2 separate regions of the Homo sapiens genome follow, and region 2 is linked to region 1. The links are contacts of gene promoters, found by promoter capture Hi-C in human tissues and cell types (Jung and others, 2019). All regions are on one chromosome and are shown on one strand. The core of a region is centred on a gene start or on the middle of the fragment in contact, and the rest is flanking DNA. Distances in the headings are between cores, read along the strand shown.

What was found. Contacts are between HindIII fragments. The study calls those that stand out against the background at their distance.
Region 2: a contact is called between a fragment that was not itself captured here and the fragment with the promoter of GPR27 in region 1, in 1 of the 25 tissues and cell types used here (dorsolateral prefrontal cortex).

Annotation. Positions count from the first base shown.
Region 1 is chr3:71,748,239-71,755,260 of GRCh38, reverse strand. GPR27 (G protein-coupled receptor 27) reads right to left here and starts at 1,406. Exons shown (of 1, transcript NM_018971.3): 1 at 1-1,406. The coding sequence starts at 1,211. The coding sequence ends at 84. It also overlaps a transcript of EIF4E3 not described here. The HindIII fragment of the contact is 10,298 bases long and covers 1-6,922 here.
Region 2 is chr3:72,921,257-72,928,011 of GRCh38, reverse strand. It overlaps GXYLT2 (glucoside xylosyltransferase 2), which reads right to left. Exons shown (of 7, transcript NM_001080393.2): 3 at 5,677-5,808. Among named protein-coding and RNA genes, the nearest start is that of GXYLT2, 37 kb to the right of the region's middle. The HindIII fragment of the contact is 4,085 bases long and covers 1,027-5,111 here.

The DNA.
Region 1 (7,022 bases), core at 157-2,656:
AGGGGCCAGAAGGAAAAGATACAACGTCACCGTCCGAGCCAAAGGGAAAGGCTGGGTTGGGGGTCTATGTGGCGGGGCCTCCCTCATAAACCAATGCCTTTCAGGTCGCAGGGATGGGTCGCCTGGGTGGTCCGGGGGCTCTGGCAGCAGGGGAACTGGGCCCTGAAGCAGTCCCTCAGCTCCCTGTTGAAGAGGAAGCACACGACGGGGTTGATGCCGGCCTGCGCGAAGGTCAGCCACACGGAGGCCGTCAGGTAGGCCTGGGGGACGGCGCCGGGCCGCACCAGGACCCGCAGGTAGCTGGCCACGACGTAGGGCCCCCAGAGGAGCAGGAAGAGCAGCGTGACGGCGTAGAACATCTTGCACAGCCTCTTCTCCGTCTTGAATTCTTCCAGCACGAGGAGGCGGCGCGCGCCGCGGCCCGGCCCTGCGGGCCGGATGCCCACAAGCGCGGGCGGCGTGGGCCCGCGGCCGAAGCCCGCCGTCCAGTTGGCGGCCGCCTGGCCGGTGGCGCCCGGGCCGTGGAAGGTCCAGTCGTGGCTGACGGCGGGCACCAGGCGCGCGGGCCGCATCTTGCGGCGGTCGTGGATGAAGAAGAGCAGGCGGAGGTAGACGAGGTGCGTGGCGCCCACCACCACGGCCAGCAGCAGCAGGAAGCCCAGCGCGCCGGGGGCGCCGTCGGGCCGCTGCTCCAGGGCGCACGGCGCGTCCTCGTCGTCGCCACCGCCGTCCAGCACTGGCGGGAAGGCCGCGGCCAGCGCCAGCGCCCAGGCGGCGCACACCAGCATGGCGGCGCACGGCCAGCCGGCCAGGCGCTCTGCATAGAAGCGGTGGTGCGCGATGGCCAGGTAGCGGGTGACGCCCACGCCCAGCAGCAGGAAGGCGGCGTGGAAGCAGAAGAGCGCGGCCAGGAAGGCGAGCAGCTTGCAGCCCAGCGCGCCCGGCGGCGCCCCCGCCGCGGCCGCCGCACGCCGCGCCGCCAGCATGACGGCCGGGAGGCAGGCGAGCGCGCGCAGCCCGTCGGCCAGGCACAGGTCGAGCAGCAGGTAGTACGGGGCGCGGTGCAGGCTGCGCTCCCGCACGATCAGCAGCGCGAACAGCACGTTGCCCGCTAGGCTCACGCACAGCAGCAGGCTGAGCGTGGCCAGCTTGAGGCCCAGGGCGGCCGCCTCGCCGCCGCCGCTGCCACCCGGCTCGCTCGCGTTCGCCATCGCGGCCTCACCAGGCCGTGCGCTCCGCCCCGGGGCCGTCCCCTGCCTCGCCGCTCCCGCAGGCCGCCCGGCCCGAGCTCCGCCGCTCCGCCGGCCCTGGGCGAGCTCCCCGTCCTGCGGGGCTCAGCCCGCTCCCGGCCGGCCCCTCCTGGGCTCCCCGAGCCGCCGCTGTGCCGCCGCCGCCATCTCAGGAATGGTGCGCGCAGGAGGAGGCGGCCACTCCCTGCGCCCTAGGCGCCGCGGGCTTCACTGCGGACAGGGCCTCGCCACCGTCCGCAGCCCCCCGCATCCTCCTCCGTCTCCTCCTACTCCTCCGCTGCTGCCGCCGCGCCTCTTGGCTCTGCCCCCCGCCGGGCCCGCCGCCGCCGCTGCCGCCGCTGCCGCCGCCGCCGCCGCCGCCGCGGAGCCCCCTCCCCTCCGCCGGAGCGCGCAGCGCGGCCGCCGCCGCCAGCCCCGCCGAGGCATCCCGCACCGCCTGGGCCCGGCTGGGCTGGGGGCGCCTCCGCAGCAGCCGCGGGGTCGGGAGGCGGCCGGGAGGGAGGCAGGGCCCAGGACGCAAGGTGGCGACAAGTCGCGTTTGGCCCCAGGTAACGGGGGTCCGGCGGCGGCGCCCGCGCTGGGGTCACGGTGGCCGTGCGCGGGGGAGGTTGCCTGGGCTGGCAGGGTCGGGAGGCCTCAGAGGGGACAGGAATATCTGGAATGAGCCTTCTGCCCGAAAGCTGGGAGTAATTTACGATAGTAATAGTCATCGTAATCCTAAAACCGCTGATACTCAGGTGCGCACTGATGTGGGTGGCAGTGTGCTGGGGAGCTTGGCAAGCATTATCTCCCTCAACAGTAATCACGAAGTTGTTGCCATCCTTAATCCCACTTTATACCTCAGGAAGCAGAGGCTTGGAGGTCAAGGGAGTTGAGAGCCGGGAAGTAGCGGAGCTGGGATTCAAATTTCGCTTGGTCTGATTTCCAGTGCTGGACTCACAGCGACTCCGCAGCATCCCCTGCTCGCTAACTCATCCGTGATCCCGGTGAAGGACCTATATCAGGGAAAAGAAATGCAGCATTTCATCTTTAAGTGACTTGGAAGGTGAACCCTATGCCACCTTCCTCCCAGGATATCTATTTTCTGGGTAAGCCTGAAAGGGCAGCCCCTGTTATGATTCTCAGACACACCGCATTTGTCTCGCAGGACCTTGCATGTGCTGGTACCTCTGCCTGGACCAGCCCCACAACAGGCTCCCTCTCCGTAGGGCCTCCTTCTAACCCGTCTGTTTTACTCTGTATCCCTGCCCTCTAGTCATTTCCTTCTTAGCACTTATAATTTGTCATTATATACTTTCATTTCTTTTTAAAAATCATGCTCTTCTAACTAGGCTCTAAGCTCTTTGAAGGCAAGGGATCATGCCTGGTTTTTGGTACCACTGCATCCCCAGTGCTTAGCATGGTAAAGCCAGAATTAAGCAACGCATTGTTTCTCACCCACACTCATTTGTTTTTTCTTCTGTGCAGAAAATTATTTGTTGCCTACTGATTACATGCAAGGCAGGCACCTTGATGGGCATTTTCAGGATAGTGCAAGATCATAGAGGGCCTTAATGATCAGGCTAAGAAGTCGAAACTTTAGTCTGCAGGCAGTCAGGAGCCCTTGAAATCTTTTGAGAAGGGGAGCGACATGACTAGGTGTGCTCCAGGAACATTATTCTGGCAGCAGTGTTGAGGAGGGATGACAGAGCAGAGCCGGTAAACCTAGTCCAGAGCCTCAAACTTCACTATGTGCAGAAATCACTGGGGACCCTGTTAAAATGAAGATTCTGATTTAGTAGTTCTGGAATGGGGCCGGAGGTTCTGCATTTCTAACAAGCTCCGGGGTGAGACTAATGCTGTTGGTCTGCTGACCTTACTTTGAATAGTAAGGCCCTTGGGGACAGTTTGGATATTTTTTTAAAAATCTAAGTGATTTTTCAAGAAAATCAACTATTGAGCACCTGACTTGGGACTCCTAAGTGGCCAGCAGCAAGTGGCTGACCAGGCACATCTGTAAATGTATGTTGATAGAAAATAGATTTTGGAGGGTGTATGGGTTAGGAATTGCAGTTTGATACTAGTAGCAAAAAACGTGTACATGAGTTTATTTTCCTCGTGAAAGAAGAAGTTTGGAGGTCAGTAGTTGCTGACATTGATTTATTGGCTCAAGGACTGAATCTCTGAAAATCTTTTAGCCCTTCCCTCATGATCACAGTAGGCTGCCGACGCCCCAGCCATCATTTCTTCATTCCAGGCAGAAAGAAGAAAAGGGAAAAGAGCAGCAATATTCCAGCCATCTAAGTAGGAAGAGCTTTCTAGAAGCCCTACATTATAAACAAACACTTAAACATATCATTGGCTATCAATTGAGAGTGAGCACTTGAGCAAGGGAGGGTAGGAAATGGTTTCTTATTTCTTTGTTTAAAGTTAGACCCATGGCTGTAGAGAATTCGATCCTGCCTTGCTGTGGCCCTTAGCGCTTGGGCTGCCTCTGCCCAGAGGAGGGAATGCCTTCTTAATAACCCACACAAATTCACCAACTCTGGTTGCTTTATGGTAATACTAATGGCAGCCACCTTTTACTGAGCACTTGCCGTATGCCAAGCATTGTGCTAAATTCTCGACATGTGTTATTTAATGTAATCATTGTAATGGCCAGATGTGGTATGTGCTGTTACTGTCTTCATTTTGCAGAGGAGGCAGAAGGGTTAATTTGTTCACGCTTTCACCACTTACACTTACTTTACACTTACTTTCAAGTAAGTGTAAGAGCTGGAAGTCTGACTTTATTTATTTTGAAACAGGGTCTCACTCTGTCACCTAGGCTGGAGTCAGTGGCATCATCATGGCTCACTGCAGCCTCAACCTCCCAGGCTCAGGCCGTCCTCCTATCTCAGCCTCCTGAGTAGCTGGGACCACAGGCTTATACCACCATGCCCCGCTAATTTTTAAAAAATTATTTGTAGAGGCCGGATGCGGTGGCTCACACCTGTAATCCCAGCACTTTGGGAGGCCGAGGCGGGTGGATCATGAGGTCAGGAGATCGAGACTATCCTGGCTAACACGGTGAAACCCCGTCTCTATTAAAATGCAAAAAATTAGCTGGGCATGGTGGCAGGCGCCTGTAGTCCCAGCTACTCAGGAGGCTGAGGCAGGAGAATGGCATGAACCCGGGAGGCGGAGCTTGCAGTGAGCCGAAATCGTGTCACTGCACTTCAGCCTGGGCAACAGAGCGAGACTCCGTCTCAAAAAAAAAAAAAAACCAATTATTTGTAGAGATGGGGTCTCCCTATGTTTCCCAGGCTGGTCTAGAACTCCTGGGCTCAAGTGATCCTCCCACCTCAGCCTCCCAAAGTGCTGGGATTACAGGCGTGAGCCACCACACCCAGCTGAGGAACTCTGTGTTTAGAGTCCATCCTCATGATCTCCACAAACACTGCCTCTTTGTTATAACTGTGAAGAAAGCTTTTGAGTTTATAAAAGCAGTAAACTAACATACACAAACTACTGATGCTCCCGGGCACAGAATTATAACCCCTTTCGAGAGGGAAGGATTTTTCAAAACCATCTAATCCTAACACTTGAATTTTACAAACAGAGAAGCTCATGAATAGCTGAGTGGGAGGGAGAACCCAGGTCCTCCCACTCCTAGGTCACTACCTTCCACTTTAAATCTTCATATTTTTTATTCTAATGAGCACATGGTGTTCGACAAGTCACTTAACCTCTTGGAATCTCAAATGTGTCCATTTATGAAATGGGACGTTGGACCAAATGATTTCTGAGGGTCCTGGGCTCTGAAGTTGAGTTTAGGTATAAGGAAATGGAAGTTAAGTGATTATGTCTCCCAAATGGGGAGAGATTTATTTTTCAGAAAAGGACACAAAAGAAGAGACATTATTAATTCCTTATAACTTAAAATTTTCTGTTTTCTGTTTCTATCTACGGTGCAAAATGCTGCTCTTGAGATTTGGTTTAGTCATTTTCCCAGGCTCAAATAGCAGAAGCAGCAGTAGAAAATACATAAATCATGGTTCTCTCACAGCATTTATATGCCTACTTCTTTCATTATCAACATTTGTTCAGTAGATTAATACTTAAGGAAAAACTGTTCACATTTCATTGGCCAGGATCAACGTATTTTCCTTTTACTGTTTCTAGGAAGCTGCAGGCAAGAATTTTAAATGCTTTCTTAGGCACCAAATTGCATGCCTTCATCTCAAAGCAAAACAGCTCTATGACATTTTTTTCCTATAAGAAAATTTCCATTATTCTTGTATAATCAAATTATTCCTTTTGGACATAGAAACAAAAGTATTTCCCACCCCCACTCCCCAAATCATTTATGTCACTTCTTTGATGTACGTATAGATGGTGTGAATGGTACTAGAAATCCTGACTGTTCAGAGGAACTGGTTGGCACCCTTTGGCAGATACAGTCAAGGTCATGGGTTCCCTAATCATGAGGTCCAGTCTGGCCAGTGTATCCTGTTTAACCTCAGGCTTCTGGCCAGTCACCTGCCAATAGGTACATTAAACACCAAGTTAGAGAAGGTTGGTTTGACTTAACTCCATCCCAACTCTTAGAAAAAGTGAGCCAAAGTCTAGGCCCAGTGGATGTTGGATTATCAAAGGGCAGCACTCAAGTTGACCTCCCCATGGGACGAAGTCATAACTTTGACAATGAAAGTGGGCCTTGCGGTGAGGACCACTCTGGTTCATGTCCAGTTTCCACCACTGACTAGCTGTGCATTAGTGGTAGTTGTACATGAACCAGATTGTACCTAACTGTAAAGAGCCCAGACTTTGGCTCATTGGGCAAGTCTCTTGCCTGCTCTGAACGTCTGAATATCAAAAGCCCATTGTGGGAAGATTCAATTAAATGAGATTCATTTACAAAGAGTGTAGCACAAGGTGTGCACACAAGTCGTGTGCAATAAATGGTTAACTACACTTATGCATATTTGCTCTTACCTGACTATATAAATGTCTTGGCTAACCATGATTTAATTGACTTTTGTATTTCCCACCTCAGCTTAACCTAGCAGGATGCCCTGTACACAGTAGGTTCTCAATATGTATGTGGCAAGTATGAGTGTCAGTCTATATAATCAAGAGTGCAAGAAGTGCAGCTGCTTCCTAGAAACCTAATTTCTGACTCTGTGTTGCCATTTTGTCTTGCTGGTGGGGAAAAAAAGAGGTAGCCTTAGTGCATCTTGGGTTTCATCATGGGTCCTTGCTTTCTCAGAATATACTGTAATTTCAGGCAGGTGCCTAAATTGCCTAGTATATGGTCATTCAGGATAGTGCGCGCATGTGTGTGGGGTGTCCCTTCTCATATTTCATCAGTTGTTGGCATATCGTTCCTGTTCTTCCAAGCCATCGTGGTTTGGTGACTCTTGGCTGCCTTGTGCCAGACTTGTGGTGTGAGAATCTGGGCTGAGGATGCATTTGATATTAGATGCATCCACAGGTATTCTTCTCAGCAGTATATCTGAGAAACTGGGTGCAGCTCCCCTCTCTCTCAGTACCCTTCTCTTCTCCTCCTCCTACCTTCATCTCCAGGGACTCCCTATATACTCTGGAAGAGGGTGAAAACCCAGTTCTTCCTTGTTCTTCTGGACAATGTAATTATAGTCATCCCTCAGTATAAACAGGGAATTCGTTCCAGGGCCTCCGCGTGCACCCAAATCCATGCATACTGAAGTCCCATAGCCAGCCCTGCAGAACCCATATATATGAGAAGTCAGCTCTTCATATATGCAGGTTTCACATCTCTCAAATACTGTA
Region 2 (6,755 bases), core at 1,820-4,319, 1.2 Mb before region 1:
TGTTAGCCTCTGGATCTAGCTGTGCTTGGAATCAGCCCTACAGTGTGGACTTTGCAGTTAGATAAGCCAATAAATTAATTTCCTTCTTTGCTAGTTGGAGTTGAGTTTCTCTCACATATAACCAAGAGTTGTAGCTAATATCCTGAATGTCAAACTTTTAATAGTGTATGAGTAAATGATAAGTACTGTGGAAAGCTTGTTCAACAAAATTGGTATCTAAGGTCATTTCATGTAATCATTTAGGTGGCTAATCTCATCCAAATAATTTATGGCCTCTTGGTGCTTGATGAAATGTATAAACATCATTTATGGTGATTCTAATTGGTGTTCCCCTTAATAAGGATTTTTAATATATTCCTATATGTGTGTCAATATTTGTTAATATCCAAAGGGTTTGTTGCAAGGATGTCTCAATGTTAATTGCAAATACTGAGGTGTAATATTAATAATAATATAGAGGTCTGACCTTAATTATAAAAAGTTCTAAAAAGTATGATAAGCTTCCTTTTTCCATTAGCCTACAGCTAACTCATGAAGACATCATTGGTAAGCATGCAGATTTCAAAACATTAGAACCAGTTACCGGTCTCTTTAACAAGCCGTAAGTAGAAAAGAGAAGATTATACATTGTTGCTTTCACTACATAAAATAAAGATTTATCTTTATTTGGCATGGTAGTCCTTTGAAATATTAAGGAGTGGGACAAGTTTCTTGGAAATATGGAGTCAGAAAACTTTCAGAATACATTTACAGGTTAAAGCTATAACTAATTTGGCCAGGTGCGGTGGCTCACACCTGTAATCCCAGCACTTTAGGAGGCCTAGGAAGGAGGATCACTTGAGCCCAGGAGTTTGAGACCAGCCTGGGCAACATGGTGAGACTCTTGTCTCTACAAAAATTTTAAAAATTAGCTGGGCATGGTGGTGTGTACCTGTGGTCCCAGCTACTCAGGAGGCTTAGGTGGGAGGATCACTTGAGCCCAGGAGGTTGACGCTGCAGTGATCCATGATTGCACCACTGCACTCTAGCCTGGGCAACACAGTGAGACCCTCTCTAACTCCTTCCTTAAATATGGCTATCTATGGTGAATGTTGGGAGCAAAAAAGACATCAGACATTATCATAACCTTGGAGCTTATTAAAACTTGGTAAAAACAAAACCAAAAACATTTATCCCTGGATACAACCTTACCCTACCTCAAATTACCATATTGGGTACCACTCACTAATAATGTCTCTAAAGGTTCTGCAATCCAGTGATGTCTGTCATGTTTTACCTATCTCTAGGATTCCCAGAAGACCACAGTTATTGAGGAGAGAAATCTTCATAATTTCTCTCCTCACAGCGTGTAGCAAAATGTACAGATCTATTATAAAATCTCACTACTTCCAATTAATTGGGGGAAAGGTGATGTGAATTCATACAACTCAATTACTCTTACAGATGTAAAGGATTTCTGGCCTGTACTAAGAAAATAAAAGTATTCCAGAATCAATTTTAATGAACACATTTGATTTATTTGTAATTGGCATATTGTTTTAAATATTTTAAGCTTCTGAATTACCTGAAATATGCATTTTAGAACGCTTAACCAAGCCATCTGCAGTTTAGTTTGCATTCATAATGATCCCATGTCATAGGACCATTAGTCACAGAAGTAGAGGAGTAAATGTCCACTGATTTGTAGGAGTTCATAAATTTTGAATTGGTGGGATCTGAATCACACTAATTGTACCTGAGAATCTAATTGGCTTGAGTTGCAAAGACTTATGCTCTGATATTATTCAGATAGTAAAATCTTAGTTGAGAAAGGGTCTCTTCCACAGTTTTGGGTAGATGACAGCCTCTTGGAAAATGGGTGGGACCATGGTCCTCAGTCAACTGACTACCTGATAGAATGTTTGCACTTTAGGATCTCCATTTTCTCTGTGCTCCTGAGGCAGCACACCTGATATGGTTTTAAAGAGATGAATTCCAAGGAAAACACAACCTAGACTTTAAAATTACCCTCAAGATCAATACATCTCACTGATGCCCAAAAATGCCATGTTCATAATCTGCTGTTGTGATATACAACTAGGAAAAGGTAAATGTCCTGTCAACCACAATCTCTCTTTATTATTTTTAAAGAGGGCTCGTTTCCATTATCAGAAGCAGATAAGGAATGCCAGCACCCATTTGTCATTCAAAACCAAGCACCTACTTAGCTGGGAAAGAATTAAGGCCATTAGGTGATGAATTTGTTTTTTTTTAAATAATGGTAATAAAGTCACAATTCAAGGTCAACAAAAATTCAAATGTAGTTCCATTGGGTAGCTAATATTTTGGATAGAATGGGAAGACCATTTCCCAACATTACCTTTGGTTTTCTAATACTTATTTTTTGCAAAAATGGAGACAAGCAACAAACCTAACATTTTCTCTCACCTCAAAGAGTAATCAGTTTTTATATCACCAACCTAGAGATTTTCGTGTCAATTGGAGGGAGTCTTTTCCTACCCCAGTTTTTATGCGATTATATATAAAGGTCTGTGACATGTGAAGAACAGACGATGTGGCCAGGCGCAGTGGCTCATGCCTGTAATCTCAGCACTTTGGGAGGCCGAGGCGGGCGGATCACCTGAAGTCAGGAGTTCAAGATCAGCCTGACCAACATGGTGAAACCCTGTCTCTACTAAAAATACAAAAATTAGCGGGGCATGGTGGTATGCGCCAAAATCCCAGCTACTTGGGGGATTGAGGCAGGAGAATTGTTTGAACCCAGGAGGTGGAGGTTGCAGTGAGCTGAGATTGTGCCACTGCACTCCAGCCTGGGCGACAGAGTGAGACTCTGTCTCAAAAAAAAAAAAAAGAAAGAAAAAGAAAAATAGATGACATAATGAGCAAGTGAGCTTGGGCAGCTGATCGCTGCCAACAATTCATCCAGGGTTTATTCTGCTCACAGGTCTCTGCGTAGGAAATGCCAAAAGGGCTACTCCCCAGTTAGTGTTTCCAGACCGATAGATGTGACGATTCCTTCTGCTTGAGTATCCTCAGCCACCTCAAAATCAAAGTATGACCCAAATTAAACTCATTTGACCCCTTTACCAAAACTGCTTTTCCCTGTCTTTTCTATCCCTAAATGATTCTGCCATTTATTTCTTACGTTGAGCCATAAGAAATTACCTTTTTGTAGGTCATTAATGGTTGAATACTGGCAATTTCAAATGGATCAACCTTAACAGTTGTTCAGGTTAAAAAAAAAATCTGGTAAAATCCTTTTCATGTCACTCCCCCTTCAACTCTTACAACGAGCCAATCATGAAGGTTGGTAAATTCCGTTTCAGGCAGGTCCATTATCCATCTCTAAGGCAACCATCAAAGCCCAAACCAAGTTAGTGACCTGGCTTCACCAACCCTGTCTGCGCTGCCATAAACCAGAGTGTCTTCTCTAAAACACAAGTTAGAACATGCCACTTGCTGCAAAAAATCATCCAGTGGCTTCCCACTGCCCTTAAGAAAAAGACTGGGCTGAGTGCTGTGGCTCTCATCTGCAATTCCAGCACTGTGGGAGGTCAAGGTGGGAGGACCGCTTGAGCCCAGGAGTATGTGAGGAGTATGTGACCAGGCTGGCAACATAGCAAGACATCATCTCTACAAAAAATAAAAAAATTAGCTAAGCATGGTGGCTCACACCTGTAGTCCCAGCTACTTGTGAGGCTCGGGTGGGAGGATCACTTAAGCCCAGGAGTTGGAGGCTGCAGTAAGCCATGACTGCACCACTGCACTCCAGCAGGGGCGACAGAGAGTGACCTTATCTCTTAAAAAAAAAAAAAAAAAGACAAAGACCAGACACTTCTAGATGGCTTGCTGAGCCTGCAAGCTCCAGTCTCTGCTGATTGCTTCATTCTCATCTCACTTTCTATTTTTTGGTTACTATGACCTTCTTTTATTTTCTTAAACATGGCCCTTCCCACCTTAGGGCCTTTGTATATACTGTTCCATCTGCCTGGACCCCTCTTTTCTCTCATTACCCCCAAGGCCCTTGTCACCTAGTAACCCTTACTTCTCCTTCATTCATGTCTGCATAAATGCCACTGCTGGACAGGCATGGTGGCTCATGCCTGTAATCCTACTACTTTGGGAGGCCAAGGCGAGAGGATCACTTAAGCACAGGAGTTCAAGATCAGCCTGAGCAATATAGCGAGACCCCATCTCCACAAAAAAATATGCCACTGCCTCAGGAGAACCTTCTATGATCTCTCTCAGACCAGGATGGAACCCCATGTTACATACATCCATGAGATTATCTCCTCTTAGTACTGGTCATACTTCTAATTATTTGTTCAAGGCCCTACTAGACTCAAGCTTCAAGGAAACAGGACCATGGCTGTCTTATTACCATGTCATCATCACTGAGCCAGGGCCCAGCACCCTGGTGGGCACTCAACAAATGTCTACTGAAGGCATGAATCCCTCACAAAAATTAAGGCAGCAACTGACAATTCAAAGTTGCTATCCCTGTGCAATATTATTCTCACTTTTGAAATATCTTTTTCTATTGAATATTTTTATTATTATTTGATTTTTAAAATTTTATTTCTTTATTTACTTTTTTGAGACACGGTCTCAGTCTGTCAGGTAGGCTGGAGTGTGATGGTGCGATCATGGCTCACTGCAGCCTCAACCTCTTGAGCTCAGATGATCCTCCCACCTCAGCCTCCCAAGTAGCTGGGACTACAGGCATGCGCCACCATGCCCAGGTAATTTTTTTTTTGAGATGTAGTTTAGCTCTTGTTGCCCAGGCTGGAGTGCAGTGGCGTGATCTTGGCTCACTGCAAGCTCTGCCTCCTGGGTTCAAGCGATTTTCTTGCCTCAGCCTCCTGAGTAGCTGGGATTACAGACATACACCACCAAGCCTGGCTAATTTTTGTATTTTTAGTAGAGACAGGGTTTCACCATGTTGGCCAGGCTGGTCTTGAACTCCTAACCTCAGGTGACTCACTCGCCTCAGCCTCCCAAAGTGCTGGGATTATAGGTCTAAGCCAACACACCCCGCCTAATTTTTGTATTTTTTGTAGAGATGGGATTTCACCCTGTTGCCCAGGCTGGTCTCAAACTCCTGTGCTCAAGTGATCCGCCTGCCTTGGCCTCCCCAAGTACTGGGATTATAGGTGTGAGCCGCCATGCCGGCCTCAAGATTTTAAAAAAGCAACCAAAAACATGCAATTTAAAAATTCATTAAACTAAAAGACTAAACCAAAATTCTGGACCCTTTTGGAATGATAGCCTAGTATGGCCATAACTAGTAGTTGTTATTGTGATAAGAGAAATAACAATAATCCAGGCTAATATTTATTGAGGGCCAGCTATGTGCCAAGCCTATGGATAAAACTGAAGTTAGTAAAGTTGGGGGATTTAACGAGGTTCACAGGAGCCAGTAAATAATGGAACCATAGTCACAAAGACCAATGATCCAAGACAGGATTTGAATGCTCACAGTCCCTCAGTCTTTCGGTATGACAACCTCCAGAACACAGGGATCCTCTCTACATGCTGCAGACTTAGAGCATCAGCTCCAGAATCCAAGAGACACAGGTTTTCAGCTGTTAAGTTAAATGTTTCTACACACATCTCAGCTAATTTTACCTTATTTCCAGGAGCAAGCTACAACTTATTAAAAACAGGTGTTCCTACCGGAAGAAAGAGTCTCTGGGCAGCACAGGGTTTGAACAATTTCTTCCACTCCTGAGGGTTTCCAACAGAAAATGTGATGGGGTAGATTCTGTGCTCAAACTTCTTTGTATATGAGTCAGGCCACTGGCGTAACTGAAAAACATGGGAAGCAAGGGAAGGGTGATTAGGCCCTAGGAAATATGGAAAATGCCTGCGAAGCTTCTGGATGGTCAAATGGAAATTATTCAGGCAACTTACACAGAAAGTCTAACTTCATCACCACTATGAATGTTCACTAAATGAAAGAGTATTTGCTCCTACTAAAATTGCTAAGATTTTAAAAAATAACATTCACCGTTGGCAACAGTGTTGAGAAACTGCAGAGGGGAGTATAGATTTGAACAAACTTCCAAAAGGTTAACTTGGAAACTGGTAACAACACCCCAAAAGACAGAGGTACAAGGACATTCACCACAACCTAGTTTGTAATAACAAGACTTGAGAACTTTGCAGCTTGGAAGAGGAAAAAAACCCAACAAACTTGGGAACAATCAAAATGTCCAATAATAAGGAATTGGGACAATTAAGTATGACAGAACTATATAATAAAATAATGTACCGTTAGAGGGACCAGGGATGGTGGCTCATGCCTGTAATCCCAGCACTTTGGGAGGCTGAAGTGGGTGGATCTCTTCAGGCCAGAAGTTTGAGACCAGCCTGGCCACACAGCAAAACCCCATCTCTACTAAAAAACACAAAAATTAGCTGGGCATGGTGGCACATGCCTGTAGTCCCAGCTACTCGGGAGGCTGAGACACGAGAATTGCTTTGAACCAGGGAGGCGGAGGTTGCAGTGAGATCGTGCCACAGTACTCCAGCCTGGGTGACAGAGCGAGACTGTGTCTCAAAAAAATTAAATTAAATTAAATTAAATTGAAAAAGAAAAATAGAATAATGTACAGTTAGAATAAAGTAGATGTCTTTTGTGTTATTTGTGGCAGGCTGGATTTGGCTCTTGTACTCCCATAGTTTGCTGACCTCAGTTCTATATCATTGTCACTAATGACTGCATTGTGTTCTGTTATGTAGATATGTACTGA